Linked DNA regions of Homo sapiens: region 2 is linked to region 1. Evidence: promoter capture Hi-C in human tissues and cell types (Jung and others, 2019). All regions are on one chromosome and are shown on one strand. The core of a region is centred on a gene start or on the middle of the fragment in contact, and the rest is flanking DNA. Distances in the headings are between cores, read along the strand shown.

Region 1 (7,335 bases), core at 868-3,367:
GGCACTTTTTAGGAGAATGTCGAGGCCGCAGAAGCAACAGCAGCTCAGAACTTGCAAGCCAAGCGCCGGGTGCCCTCCCCTTACCAGTAGGGGCAGCTGAGCCCCCAGGCTCTGCCACTGTAATCTCAAATGGTGGCTTGGAGTCCGCCTGCAATTACTCAGCAGGCAACTGGCTTCCCTCACCCCACCCCAAACTGAGAAGCCTCAACTGTCAGCGGATCTGACTTCAAATCCAAACCATTAGGGAGGAGAAAAGCAAGAAACCTTTCTGTTCAAGTAACCCAGCTTCAGAACACATACCCCCTAACGTGCAGTAATGAATAGATTCTGTCTGTAGCCTCCGCAGTTTTAGCCAGCAAATTTAAGTGGGATGGAGACACATGTCAAGATTTTTTTGCGCGTTCAAAGTATGGAAAAATAGCAAGAGGTTTGGGAATGCTCATTGATTGGTTAGTTCTACATGAAATGACAATGGTGTTACTGGTGTGTTCTCCACCAGCCTTAAAAGCAATCACTATTCTAAAATTGTCAAATCCTCTAACAACCCCATGAGGTGGATACTACTGTTGGCCACTATTTACAGATGAGGATTAAGGGACTTGCTCAACATCACACAGCTATAAGTGCTAGAGCTGGGACTTGAACCCAGGTGTCAGTACCAATGCTCCTGCTCTTATTCTCATTGCGGTCCAATTGTCAATACATTGTCAACCCCGGGAAATTCATTCAAAAGAAATGTGCCTGTTAACCCAAGTGATTGTGCTGTGAACATGAAGAGCTGAAGGGCTAGCTAGAACATAGAATCCGGTCTGCAGTCAGGACCTAGCACTGCTGTCTGCCCACAGATCTTCAAGTTCTTAAAAGTCTGTTGAGGAGCAGTTAGAAAAAAGATGGTACAATCCTTGCCTCTGCCCACTCACCTCTGAGGGTGGCAGGAAAAGGAGAGCCTGTGTTTAAAGGATTCTGGCTTCTCCTGCCAGCTCCCTGAACCCAATCTAAAGCAGCCCAGATCCCAGCCTCACCCTACCTTCTCTAAGGTCTGGACCCCAAGAAGGACATCATGGTGAAGATCAGCATCAGTCAGTCAGGATCTTAAATCTCAGATGTGGGCAGGAAGGCACATGCATCCTCCCAGCCAAAAGAGGTGACCTACCAAAAATCACTTCTCATCTTCCCCAGCCTTAGAACTGCCTCTGAATGAGAGGAACCACATTTTACTGAACGCATCTTCAGACCATAGCTTTATGCTAAGCATTTTACAGCATTTATCACACTTAACTCTTTCCAGAATTCTACAAAGCATTCTTGTACCCATTTTCCAGATGAGGAAAATGAAGCCCAGAAAAATTGAATGTCTTGTCTGAGATCACCCAGGGACAGAGCCTGGATTTGAACTTAGGTCAAGCCCACTACAAAGAGTACACATGCTTAACCACCACACTGTAACCTTCCCACTTGGGACTGTTCCAACCCAGCAAACAAGTCCCTTTAGAGAAACCCAACTCTCTGCCTAAGACAGCTCTTAGAACTACCTTAAAGAAGTTCCTTTTGGCAAGAAGATAGAAAGCCTCGATGGGATTGGGGTCGTCTGATTTCCAAGGCCCCTTCAGAGGATCAAAAAGTGGTGCCAGAAACCTTCACAGTTTCAGTCTTGTGTTTCCCTGCCTGGCTCGAAACTGCTCAGCAAAGAGAATGAGAAAAACTATTTTCCCAGGGAAACACTCACCTCTAGCTTGAGACTGGGGCTTGCCTTGACACGCCAAAGTAAGATCGTCAGCCCATTCATTTACCCTTACAAATTGCTCTGTGAATCCCGGTGCCGGCCTCCCCGCTCTTCCCCCTCCAGGAAACCCCATCCAGCCTCCACGCTCTGAGAGCGGCAGGTATCCACCGATGTTTACTCACTCAAGTTCATTCGACATCTTCCTGCTCCCAAGCTCCGACGATCAGCACTGAGGCTCTGCTGACCGCTTGTCTCTAATTCTTGCCTGACACAGACATTCTCTGCCCGGGAAAGTGTTTGATTTATGTTGAGGTTTGGGTGTCGAGATTTTGCTGACAGGTAGGTTCCCAGCAGCGCTGGCGCTGATTGGCTACAGGTACAGGTGCCGGCGACTGGAGGTATACCTCAACAGGTGCAGCTGTTAACTCTTAGCCCGCCGAGGAGGGCGGAGCTATGGGGGACTGGCTGGGTGGAGCTGGCCAATTCCTTCCTTGGTGAGGGGGTGGGGGGTGGAGATGAGGGAGGAGGGATGGAGAAGAAAATGTTGGAAAGAAGCAAGATAACTAGAGGAAAAGTACAGGGACAAACAGATAACTTGGCTTAAAGGAAAACTTGATTCCTGTTTCTAGTCATTGTCCCAGATACCCAGAAACATCCCCACCCCCAAATTTCTTTGCCCCCTCCTTCTGTACCACTGGGGAATTCTCAAAGGAGAGAGCAACTTTTCCCAGGTAGATCTTTGTATAAGTTCCCTTTTTTTCAGTTTCCCCTTTAAGGTAATATTTTTGAATAATCTTTTGCAGTTACTCAAGTGACTTCTTTTGGTTCTTAAAGTAACCTACCGTGGTAGATTTATTATCGCTTCCCCCTTCCTCTTCAACACATATTTTACAGATGAGGGAGGAAATGGAGGCCAGAGAGGCAAAGTGCCTTGCCCAAGGGCACAGCTAGCGAGGTCCCAGCCCAGATCCAATCTGCAGTCATCTCACTCCAAGTCTGGCTGCCCCTTGGGCTGAAGTCAGTGGCCTCAATTCAGTAGACATTCATTGAGCACCCGTTGTGTGCCAGACCCTACTCTGGGTTCTGGAGAAACTGAGGCCAGAAAAAACAGGGGTTACTGTTCTAAAGGAGTTTACAATCTGGGGGGTGTGTGTTGGTGGCAGGGGGTGGGGGAGTAAAGGAGAACAGGCTTTTATTGGGTGTGAAGGGGGTGTGGGCAAGCCACATACCTCTGGTCAGCACAGAAGGGATAGAAAAGTTGAAGGCTCCTCTGAAGCCTCAGCCAGCTGGTCATTTCACAGGCTCCAAGTGCTTCGTTCTGTATTGGGAACTTGGGAGAAATTCAATGCCTGTCAGATGAAGTAATTGTGGAGTAATTGCTGTGAGCTGTCTACTATAAAGAACAAGCTTGGTAAACCCCAGAATATCCACAAACACAAACAGGAGAATGTAAGAGCTTTTTAAAGAGCTTCTTCCAGGATTAGTTTGAAATTAAATCTAAGCCAGAGATCTTGGCATCTTTTTTTCCCTCTCTCTCTTTCTATTCTCCCCTCCCCCACCCTTCCCCTTTTGGCAAATTATCTCTTTGCTGTGTCTTCCTGGAAACCTCAACTTGGCCCACTCCTCTCTCTCTTCTCTGGGAACGGCAAGTGAGGTTTCAGCTACCCCTGCCAATTTATGGAGGTTTTTCAGGGTAAAGTCAGAATTCAAAGGAGCCCTCTTGGGGTGGGGTCAGGGCTCTGGAGAGGGGGTACTGGGTTTGAGAACTCTCAGAGATTGGTTTCTCCCTGGAGGCTGTGTTGGGGGAAGCCCAGGGGACCCTAATAAATAATAGTAAATAATTGCTAATAAAGCCACCTCCTCAGAGCAGCCCTCTTCAGTCACCCTTGTTAATAAAGTAGACATTCAATCACTCTGGATCACACTACTTTTTGTTCTCTGCAGAGCCCTTATGACTTATGATACAATGTAATATGACCTATGATATTTTTCTAATCGTTTATTGTCTTTCTCCCCTTCCTCTGGAATGTAAATTCCATAAGAGCAAAGACTTTGTGTCGCTCACTGTGGAATCTCCAGTGTCTGGCACCTAGTAGGTGCTTCATATACCACAGGCACCGGGCATTGTGCGCCTTTGCATACATTGTGTCGCCTAATCCTTACAGCAACCCTGGGAGATAGACATTTTTGATACCCCCATTTTATAGATGAGGAAACTGAGGTACAGAATACTGAAGTAAACTACTCAAGCTGCAGAGCTAGGCAGTGGTAGAGCTAGAGCTGGGATTTAATCCGAGAGCAGAGCCTGGGTGCCCAACCACTTCACAGAGCTTATTGGTGGCTGAAGGGCTATTTGGTGCCAACTGTAACTGCAAAGCTTATTGCAGTCCAAAGGATGGCACACTCCTCTGTATGTACCTGTCTGCCCACCTCATGGAAGGCTGTGGAGTTTCTGTCAACCGTGTTGCAACCCACAGGTGAAGGGCTGTGGGGTGACTCATGCTGACTGGGCTCAGGGGAGGCTGGGATTCCAGGTGGCGTGTCTGTGCTCGCTGGGGTTTTAAAAATGGGTCCTCTCCCTCTGCCTCTAGGTTTTGCCTCTTTCATCACCCGCACCCATCTTCAGAGATCAGCAGAGACCCAAATCACAGGGCAGAGGGTTTCTACGTCTCCACACACAGGAAGGCTACAGAAGTGTCCCGGATGGGATAGAAGGACCGGTGGTCTGGGCTAGGTAGGCAGGAACGCCATGAGCCAGTTTGCAAGGTCACCAGGCCCCTCAGTAGGAATTATACCTCCCAGGCAGGAGGTACAAGTGCTTTCTAGGCCTTCATCCCAACAACCCAGAGATGCCAGGCCTTTAAAGAGACACTCCCCGTGCTTTGCTGCTGCCCCCTTCCTGCTCCTGTGGGGCTGAGCAAGGCTGGCACCTACTTCCCCTTCATGGATCAGCACAGCTCTTGGTTCCTCTGCAGAGGAGATTTAAAACAGAACAGCTATTCCAAAAAAAAAAAAAAAAAACAAAGTTTAAAAAAACATAAACAGAGACCAGCCAATTACTTGTAACATAATAATTATATCCACAATAATGACAGTAAATAATGAGGGCTGCTGTTTAGTTAGCGTTTGTATTTTGCAAGCACTGTGCTAAGACTTACCTATGTGTTAGGATAGTATTGTTCTGAGACTCACAGGCCTCCTTTCAAATCTCAGCCCAACTAGCTACATGATGTCGGGCAAGTGGCTACAGCTCTTTGAGCCTCAGTTTCCTCACCTGTAAAGTGTATATAAAAATTGTATTCCTCCCTTATGGGGTTATTGTGAGGATTAAAAGATAATGCGTGTGAAGTGCATTATCTGTACCTGGCATCTAGCACTCAATACTTGTTAGAAAAGCCTTTTTTTCCCCCCTTAATTCTCATTTAAATCTAATGAGGAAGATATTAACCTTATTTCACAAGTGAAGAAACAGACTCGGAGGTTAAATGATTTGTTGGAAGTCAAAAGTTAGCTGGGTGCGGTGGCTCATGCCAATAATACCAGCACTTTGGGAGGCCAAGGCAGGCAGATCACTTGAGATCAGGAGTTCGAGACCAGCCTGGCCAACACGGTGAAACCCCGTCTCTACTAAAAAAACAAAAATTAGCTGGGCATGGTGGCATACACCTGTAATCCCAACTACTTGGGAGGCTGAGGCAGGAGGATTGCTTGAACCTGGGAGGCGGAGGTTGCAGTGAACCAAGATCGCGCCACTGCACTCAGCCTGTGCAAACAGATAATGTCAACAACAACAACAACAAAACAAAAGCTAATAAGTTAAAGAATTGAGATTTGAACCCACATCTTTCTGATTCCATTCTTGCAGGACTGGACTAAGTTAGGGAGTGCCCTGCGCTCAAGTTCTGCCTGACCTCTGGCTACTTATTGTGTGACTGAGTAAATTCTCTCCTCTCAGAGTCTCAATTTCCCTCTATAAGAACAGATTAGTGAATCACTATAAGGGGGGAGTTCCCTATTAAAATCATCTTGATTTGCTTTTCTAGATTACTGATGTTCTTTCTCCAGACGTTCTGATCTGCCCTCTTGGAGGACTGCACAGTCCTTCATCCCTCCCCTCCTTTCCACGATCATGCCTGTGCAGAAGCCACTGTTCCCAAAGAGTATGACACTTCTCCTTGGCATGTTGGGGAGGAGTAAAAGTTAGGGCCACTGTAAGTGAGCACTGAGAGCCAGGGCTCCTCTGTGTGTCTGTGAAAGTTGTGTACTGAACAATGACGGCACCATTTACCAGACGGGACATGCGCTGCTGAACATGAGGACCTTGCTGACAGCCGTCCTTTTCTAACACTTGAATGCTTTCTAATTATCCAGAACTCTTAATGCAAATCTGTTGACCTATATTCAAATATTGAAAGAATATATACCCACATGTCAACAGTGCTTCTCTGTGGGCACTGAAATACCAGGATTTCAATCTTTTCTCCGTCTTCCCCCAAACGGGCTACATTGAACTTGCACTGCTTTTGTAATTAGAAATTCTATACAAAGCCCCAGTTTAAATGTCATTAAACCAAAATAATTTCCCATTGACAAATGGCCATTGTGTCCCTATCCTTCCTGGGACAAGGGCAGGGATGAAGAGAGTGAAGACTGAGTCCTTGCCCAGTGATCCCCTGGGAGGCACAGGAATGGAGACGGGGGGGCTGTCTGGCTTGCAGGGGGGCTGTCTGGCTTGCAGGCTCTCAGCAGCGAGCTCAGCTATCTGATCTCATTTTGATTTTGCAATTAAAATTACTATCATTTATTGAGCACTTAACGCCATAATGCTAGCTGTAGATGCTCTATCCCATTCCTACCTGTAAAATGGGGTCACATGGTTGGCCAAGTTACTAAAGAACGTCAGCTTTGAGGGTGACTGCCTGAGGCCTTGGACAAGCAACTTCACTTCCTTCTGCCTCAGTTTGTCCTCAGTGAAATGATTGCTATGAGGATTAGATAACAGTGTCCATAGTATGTGTCAGGCACTGTTCTAGTGCTTGATTTTATATATATATAAATATATAAATATATAAATATATATATAAATAATATATAAATAAATAAATAAATAAATATATATATATATATAAAATCATGTAATTCAAGAGGCCTGTGAAGTAGCCGCCATAAGTATCCCTGTTTTATACAGAAGATGGTAACAGTCCCAGAGAGGTGATATAACATCTAAGGTCACCTGGCTCTCCCCTTAGTGACAGAGATGAAATCAAACTGAAGTTGGCCTGATCCCAAAGTTGTGGAAATAGTCCTTTCAAGCTTCCTAGTCCCTGTCTGGAACAAGGTCTAGGAGGGATAGATAGAAGGGAGATGGGAGGGAGGGAGGGAAGAAAAGTAGATAGGTTGGTTGATAGTATCTGCAAGGCAGATAGGATTTGTAAATTTCTGGAGGGCAGAAACCATACAAGGAAAAATAAATCTCACATAGCACTTGTCCTGTGTCTCAACATAATAGGTATTCAATAAATGTTTGTTGAATAAATGAAAAACGGATGAATGAACATAATTTCACACATTACTGACATTCTGGGCAAATTAGGTATTGCCTTCTACCCCCC
Region 2 (7,232 bases), core at 2,931-5,430, 38 kb after region 1:
TAAGCTGCACGAGGGCACAACTTCATACCTCCTCTGTGCATCGCTGTATCCCAAAAGCCTTACACGGTGCCTGGAGCACAGTGGGCCCTCAATAAATATTGGTCATGTACAGAAGGCTTAGCACGGTGCCTGGCACATAGGAGTCTTTGATTTTAAAAGACAACTTTGGCAGCTGCCGCTGTTGGCATTGTCCTTATTCTCAATGTAATTCCCCAGGGCACACAGACAACCAGGTCCCTGTGCCACTAGGCTGTGCCTATTGGGATTCTCACCCTCCTCAGCTCATAAATCAAGAAAGAGAAATATTTGGGCCCATACAAAACCACAGCAGAGGGCTGGGCCTTGCCCAGAAGTTGCCTCTGAGTGGAGTCTGTACGTGCGTGCGCGTACGTGTATTCGTTGGCCTGTCTGTGTGTTTTCCCATCAGCACAGGTGCCTGCTGGGGCCACGCTGTACACCACAGGCTCTCCTCTCTCTCAAGATGGAGGTCGGGGTGTAGCTGCGTTTGGGGAGCAGCTGCCACATCTCCTTAGGCATGTAGCAGCCTGCGTGTGCTCCGGAGACAGAGCAGCGTGGGTGAGGCTCAGGGTTTGCCTGCCCCAGTGGCCTCTGCTCCAGAACAGGCTTGTCTGGGCCTGCCCACCCTTAATCTAACCACAGAATTGGGGAACTGACTGAACCCCAATTTCTAGGGGGGTACAGCTTGAACGCCAAGGCTTCTGCCACTGTCTCCATGGCCTTGGCCCAAACCTTATTGGCAAGAGGCCAAGTCAAAGGGCCTCACGTGGGTGCTGGAGGTTCCAGATCCACAGGCCATCTCCTGGGTTCTGAAAGGGTCACTCGTGTTTCCCAAGTGCCCACTAAGTGCCAGACCTGCATGAGGAGCGGGATGGAGGGGTGAGCAACAGAGACCCAGCCCTCCCCCATGGGGCTCCTGGGCTGGGCCAAGGAGGCAGATGTTAAACAAAGAGTTACTTAAATTACAGATGTGATGAGGCTGAGAAGGAAAATTCAAGGGACTGTGTGTGCTTTGAACTGGGCTGAGGTGGGTGCTTTGAACTGGGCACCTGAGCTGGGCTGAGGTACTCTCTGAAGAAATAATATTTATTTATTTATTTAATTTTGAGACAGGGTCGTGCTCTGTCACCCAGGCTGGAGTACAATGGCATGGTTACAGCTCACAGTAGCCTTAACCTCCCGGTCTCAAGCAATCCTCCCACCTCAGCCTCCTGAGTAGCTGGGACCACAGGCACACACCACCACACTGGGCTAATTTTGTTTACTTCTGTAGAGACAGGGTCTGTGTTGCCCAGGCTGGCCTTGAACTCCTGGACTCAAGCAATCTGCCCACCTTGGCCTCCCAAAGTGCCGGGATTACAAGCATGAGCCAGGGCACCCAGCCAGAAATGATATTTAAACTACGGCTGGAAGGATGGTTGGTGTCAACCAAGTTGAGAGGCTGGAGTGGTGATGGGAAGAGAGGAATTGTGTCTCAGAAAAAGGGAACAGCATGTGCAATGGCCCCGAAGCGAGCCTGATCCGCGGTGTGATTCTATTGAAACCTGCAACACCCTAAGAGGGAACTTTTAATTTTGCTGATGAGAAGACGAGGCTTGAGGAGGTTCGGCCACCGGCCTGGGACTCAGCAGGTTGCATCCTGAGCCCCTGGGGTTTTCCTGAGGACTCAGCCTGAGTCACCCAGGACTCAGCCGAGTCCAGAAGACCAGCCTCCCTTACCTGTGGAAAATGTTCAAAAAGTTTCAGGGTTAATGAGGTTTCTGGGGGGGAAACTCATTGTGAAGGAGAAAGCATTAAAAAAGAGCATAATCCTGATTCTGAGGTGACTGGGAAGGCAATTCCGGGATTCCAGCATCCTTTCCCAACCCGGTTCCTCCTTGGATGTGGTCCCATCTGATATAGCTTTCCCAGAATGAATCACAACGCAAAACTGTCCAGATGCATGTAGATAAGTAAATAAATAAACCCAACAAGTGGGCCAATTCCTTCTTCCTGGAGGAAGTAGCTCAGTAGAGTCCACAGATAACAAAACAGAGTGTGTCTTAAGATTTTAATTAATCACATTGTTGATTTTCCCTGGGTTATTGAATAAGGTCCACTCGGAAATAATGAAGACACCAATGTGCCTGGGCTCCTGGGCGAGTAAAGAGAAGGCAGCATTTGGCAATGCCTGGTGAAGGCCTAAGTGAGGTGCGGGTCATTCACTGTGATTTGCTCCACATTTATTTACAAGCCCAGCAAGCTGTCCCTACTGTCCCAAGGTGAGCAACCATAGCTTGACTTCCTGGGCTAGAGCAGGTGGCATCTTTTTTGAGGAGGCCCCAAATGGCATCCCCCATACTCCCTGATATGATGACTATGACTGGGGCCTCCAAGTAGTAGGTGAGGCGTGGGCACCCACCTGTCTCTGGGTAACCACACCTACCTGAGTAAGCATTGGGTAACCAGGCATGAGGCACCCATCTGCATGGGCAATTTGTACAATTACCCCGGGTGCCCAGGTGAATCAATGTTTACTTGCTGCAAAGCTGGGGAACCTCAACCTCGCCTGTGGTCCAGGGACCTCCAGGGCAGCAGCATGGGAGGAATGTCTGGTCCAAACGGCTAAGGCATCCCTGGCCCAGTTTCAGGTACAGACTCCAGCAGACTCTCCAGTATCCATTCAGGGTTGAGAATGTTGAGGAACCTGGAGATATTTGAAAAATAACTCCAGAAACAAATGAAGCGATTTTTAAAAACAGGGCACAGTGAGGTGAATTAACTCGCCCCAGGTCACACAGTGAATACACAGCAGAGTCAGAACTTGAACCAGGCACAGGCAGACTCCAGCATCCCCTTCTACTCTTGGGTTAGTATACTTATATCTACTGTTGCATATGTATGGAATAGAAGGTCTGGAAGCATGTACATCAAAGTGATTTTTCTTTACTAGTGAGATTATTGGGGAGGGAGGGGGGCTTTCACTTTCTATTCTTCACAATCATGTATTATTTCTTCTTTTCATAACCTGCATTAATTTTATATTTAGGAAAAAGTGAAAAGATGTGGTTTTGATCTGGTGCTCCAAATTGATAATGTTTATCAAAGGCTTTAAAAATATCCTAAGGGAATAATCACATGTAGTCAAGAGGATACAAGACTGTTTCTGGAATCACTGATCTTCAACCCACTGCTTTATCACCTGACACAGTGCAGCACCTGTTGCTGGAACATTCCACAGCCTTTAGGAGTGGAGTTTTGAAGAACATGCAATGACATGAGAAAATGTTAATGACATAGAGTTAAATATAGAAAGGAGGGTATGAAATTGTATACAGAGTATGATGCCATTGGTGTTTTTAAACAATTCCAGGCTGGGTACAGTGGTTCACGACTGTAATCCCAACACTTTGGGAGGCCAAGGTGGGGGAATAGCTTGAGCCCAGGAGTTTCAGACCAGCCTGGGCAACAAAGTGAGACCCCCCCCATCTCCACAAAAAAATGAAAAAATTAGCCGGGCATGGTGGTGTGTGCCTATGGTCCCAGCTACTCAGTAGTCTGAGGCAGGAGGATTGCTTGAACCTAAGGGGTTGAGGCTGCAGTGAGCCAAAATCATGCCACTGCACTCCTGCCCAGGTGACAGAGTGAGACTGTGGAAAAAAAAAATTAAAAAAAAATTTTTAATCCTATATAGAAATACTAGAAAAATGCACCAAATATTAATAACAGTTATCTTTGGATGTCAGGGTTATGGTAACTTTAAGCTTCTTTCTACTTTTCTTCATTTTCTATGATAATTGTATGTAACTTTTCTACTCAGATAGAACAATAACAAAACAACTAATGTTTACTAGTGTTTTCTGTGCTAGGTATGTTACATGTTCCATCTTATTTAATCTTCACCACAAACTTATGAGTAGATGTGAGGGAATGAAGACTTAGAAATGGGAAGTAATTTGTCCATTGTCACACAGCTGGTATGTGGTGAGGCTGGGGTCTGAACCCAGACAATCTAACTGCAGAGGCCACTCTCAACCACTATAGATGCTATTTTTCTTTAAAATAAAGATAGTACTTCAAGGGCTGGCTCCTGTTCATCTTGCCCAGTAGGCACAATGGAGACCTGAAGCACAGCCACCATGGATCGTTGGGCAGGCTGTGCTCTGCTTGCTAAGCGGTGAGTCTTGGCAAGGAACTGTATCCATCTGGAGAAAGAGGTGCTTTTTCATAAAAATGTGAATTAAAACCACAGTGAGCTGCTACTACATACCTACCAGAAACATTAAAAAGATGGACAATACCAGCCAGGTGTGGTAGCTCATGCCTGTAGTCCCAGCACTTTGGGAGGCTGAAGTGGGGTGGATCATTTGAGCTCAGAAGTTCGAGACCAGCCTGGGCAATATAGTGAAACCCCGTCTCTGCAAAAAATACAAAAATTTAGCCCAGCATGGCCACACATGCCTGTAGACCCAGCTACTTGGGAGGCTGAGGTGGGAGGATCACTTGAGCTTGGGAGGTGGAGGTTGCAGTGAGCTGAAATCGTGCCACTGCACTCCAGCCTGGGTGACAGAGCAAGACTCTGTCTCAAAAATAAAATAAAATAAAATAAAATTAGACCAAATGTTGATGAGGCTGTGGAGCAACTGGAACTCTCATTCATTGTTGGTGACAAAGTGATACATTGTTGGTGGTGCAATAAAATGGTACCACCACCTTGGAAAAAGATCTGTCATTTTTTTGTAAAATAAAACATACACCTACCCTGTGACCCAGTCGTTGTACTCCTAAGTATTTACTCAAAAGAAATGAAAACACAAATTCACAAAAAGCCTTGTAGAAGAGTGCACATAGCACCTTTCTCATAATAGCCCCAAATTGTCAACAGCCCGGGTGTCCATCAATAGGAAAATGGACAAACGAACCGCAGTATAGGCCTACAAAAGAATACTCCCCATTAATAAAAAGGAATGAATTAATGATATGCAGGAACAACATGGATGAATCTCAAAACACTACATTGAATGAAAAAAGCCTTACATGAGAGATTATATAAGGTATCATTCCATTTATATGAATTTTCAGGACAGGCAAAACCAATCTACTGTGGAAAAATATTGGTACAGTGGGTTGCCTAGTGTGCTGGAGGGGAGAGTATTGACTGGGAAGGGGCATGAGGGAACTTCCTGGAGTGAGGGGAATATTCTTTATTTTGAGAGGGTTTGGGATCACAGGTGTATGCATTTATGAAAACTCAATAAAAAGCACTTGTGCATTTCATCATATATAAATTTTACATCAAAAGGATAAAAGTTGTGAGCAAATATATGTGCATGCTGAAGTAGTTAAGGAAATTGTATTGATGTCTGCAATTTACTTTAAAATTTATAATGAAGTCGAAGCATTAATGAATGTCTAGAGGGATGGCTTTATGTGAAAGAAAAGCAAGTACAGTACAACATTCATAGAATTTAAATGGTGAGTTTAAGGATATTCACTATAAAATGCTTTCAACTTTTGCTGTGATGTTTGAAAACTTTCATAATAAAACATTGAAAAACAGGCTTCCTGTACACAAACATAATTATGAAAGAAGCCAGGCACAAAAGGACACACGATGTGTGATTTCATTTAGCTAAAGGACAAAATGAACTGATGAGATTAGAAGTCAGGATAATGGTCAGGACAGGGGAGTGAGGGGGTGTGTGTTACTGGGAAAGTTCTGCTTTTGCACCTAGGTATGGATGGCGGTGTTCAGATTGTGAAAATTCATGATTGGTGCACTTTTCTATAATGTATATTACACTTTTCTGTACATATGTGTATTGTACTTAATAAAACTGGGTTTTAAAAGACTTGTCATGTTACCAACTCCTGCTTCAATCAATATTTGGTAATAATTCACCATCTGTCTTACTCACAGAGAAATGTGGGTTCAAATTCTGGTTCTGCCACTTAGCAGCTGTGGGATCACACAAGTAACCTCCATGGGTCTCAGTTTTCTCCTCTGTTAGGAGGAATAATGACATCTCTCTCAGGGGAGGTGATGTTGAGATGGAAGGAGACCATACACACTCATTGCTTGACCCTGTGCCTGCCACATGGTATTAGGTTGGTGCAAAAGTTGACGAGTTTTTGCCATTAAAAGTAATGGCAAGAACCGCAATTACTTTTGCACCAACTTAATAACTGCTTTCAACGAGATTAAACGGTGGTGATTAATCAGTACCCTCAGGCTTCCCCTGTTTTCACCACCACCAGGGATGTCAGGACTGGGCAGCAAGAAAGGCTTTTGGATTGGCTGAGGTCCTTTGGGCCACTTGCTTAACTTCAACTTCTCTGAGCCTCAGTTTCCTCATCTACAAAGTACAGATGATAATTCCTGCTGGGCGGGGTTGCCGTTAGCACCAGAAAAACTTTAGATCCATTAGCTTGAAGATGTCCAGGGTTTTCTAAGGACCTTCTTGTGTTTTTTGTGTTTTTTTTGTTTTTTTTTTTGTTTTGTTTTTTGAGACAAGGTCTCACTCTGTTGCCCAGACTGGAGTGCAGTGGCTCGATCTCAGCTCACTGCAACCTCCATCTTCCAGGCTCAAGTAATTCTCCTGCTTCAGCCTCCCAAGTACCTGGGATTATAGGCATGTGCCACTACTGCCCGGCTAATTTTTGTATGTTTTAGTGGAGACGGGGTTTCACTGTGTTGGCCAGGCTGGTCTTGAACTCCTGACCTCAAATGATCCACCTGCCTCAGCCTCCCAAAGTGCTGGGATTACAGGCATGAGCCACCGCGCCCAGCCCCTTCTTGAAGTTCCAAACCCCACTATGGGGTCAATGGATGTAGCTTGGACATCTTGGAATAGAGGCTCTGGGGTCCTCCCCAGGATACAGTGACAGCCCTTGTGGCACCTGCCCCTGGAGGCCAACACGGTAGCCTTGCTGGCACAGCCTAGCAATTGCTCCAGTTAGTAAATCAGGGATTGCACTTCAGTGAGTAACCTGCCACCCAGGAGCAGTTATCTGCTGCTGCCACCACACAAAGGAAGCTCTGTTCAGGCACAAAGCGACTGCTTGGGATGCTGGCAAGACCAGAGCTTCCCCTGGCCCTCAGGCCAGGACTTGGGACTGGGTGTCTGGCCCTGAAGGTGGGTATCAGCTTCCCAAAGGTGACTGCCAAGCTCAGAGGCATTAGGACGTGCTCATTTCTGAGCTTTGAGACAGCTTGTCTTCCACCCACCCACTCT

Evidence for each region. The method cuts DNA at HindIII sites, captures the fragments that hold promoters and counts their contacts. A contact is called where the count stands out against the background at its distance.
Region 2: a contact is called between a fragment that was not itself captured here and the fragment with the promoter of GRHL3 in region 1, in 4 of the 25 tissues and cell types used here (IMR-90 fibroblasts, lymphoblastoid cells, mesenchymal stem cells and 1 more).

Annotation. Positions count from the first base shown.
Region 1 is chr1:24,314,139-24,321,473 of GRCh38, reverse strand. GRHL3 (grainyhead like transcription factor 3) reads right to left here and starts at 2,117. Exons shown (of 16, transcript NM_198173.3): 1 at 1,906-2,117. The coding sequence starts at 1,922. The region is part of intron 1 of GRHL3-AS1 (GRHL3 antisense RNA 1); the gene reads left to right. The HindIII fragment of the contact is 14,571 bases long and covers 1-3,615 here.
Region 2 is chr1:24,278,722-24,285,953 of GRCh38, reverse strand. No RefSeq gene overlaps it. Among named protein-coding and RNA genes, the nearest start is that of GRHL3, 37 kb to the left of the region's middle. RefSeq lists an enhancer at 7,002-7,232. The HindIII fragment of the contact is 7,226 bases long and covers 568-7,232 here.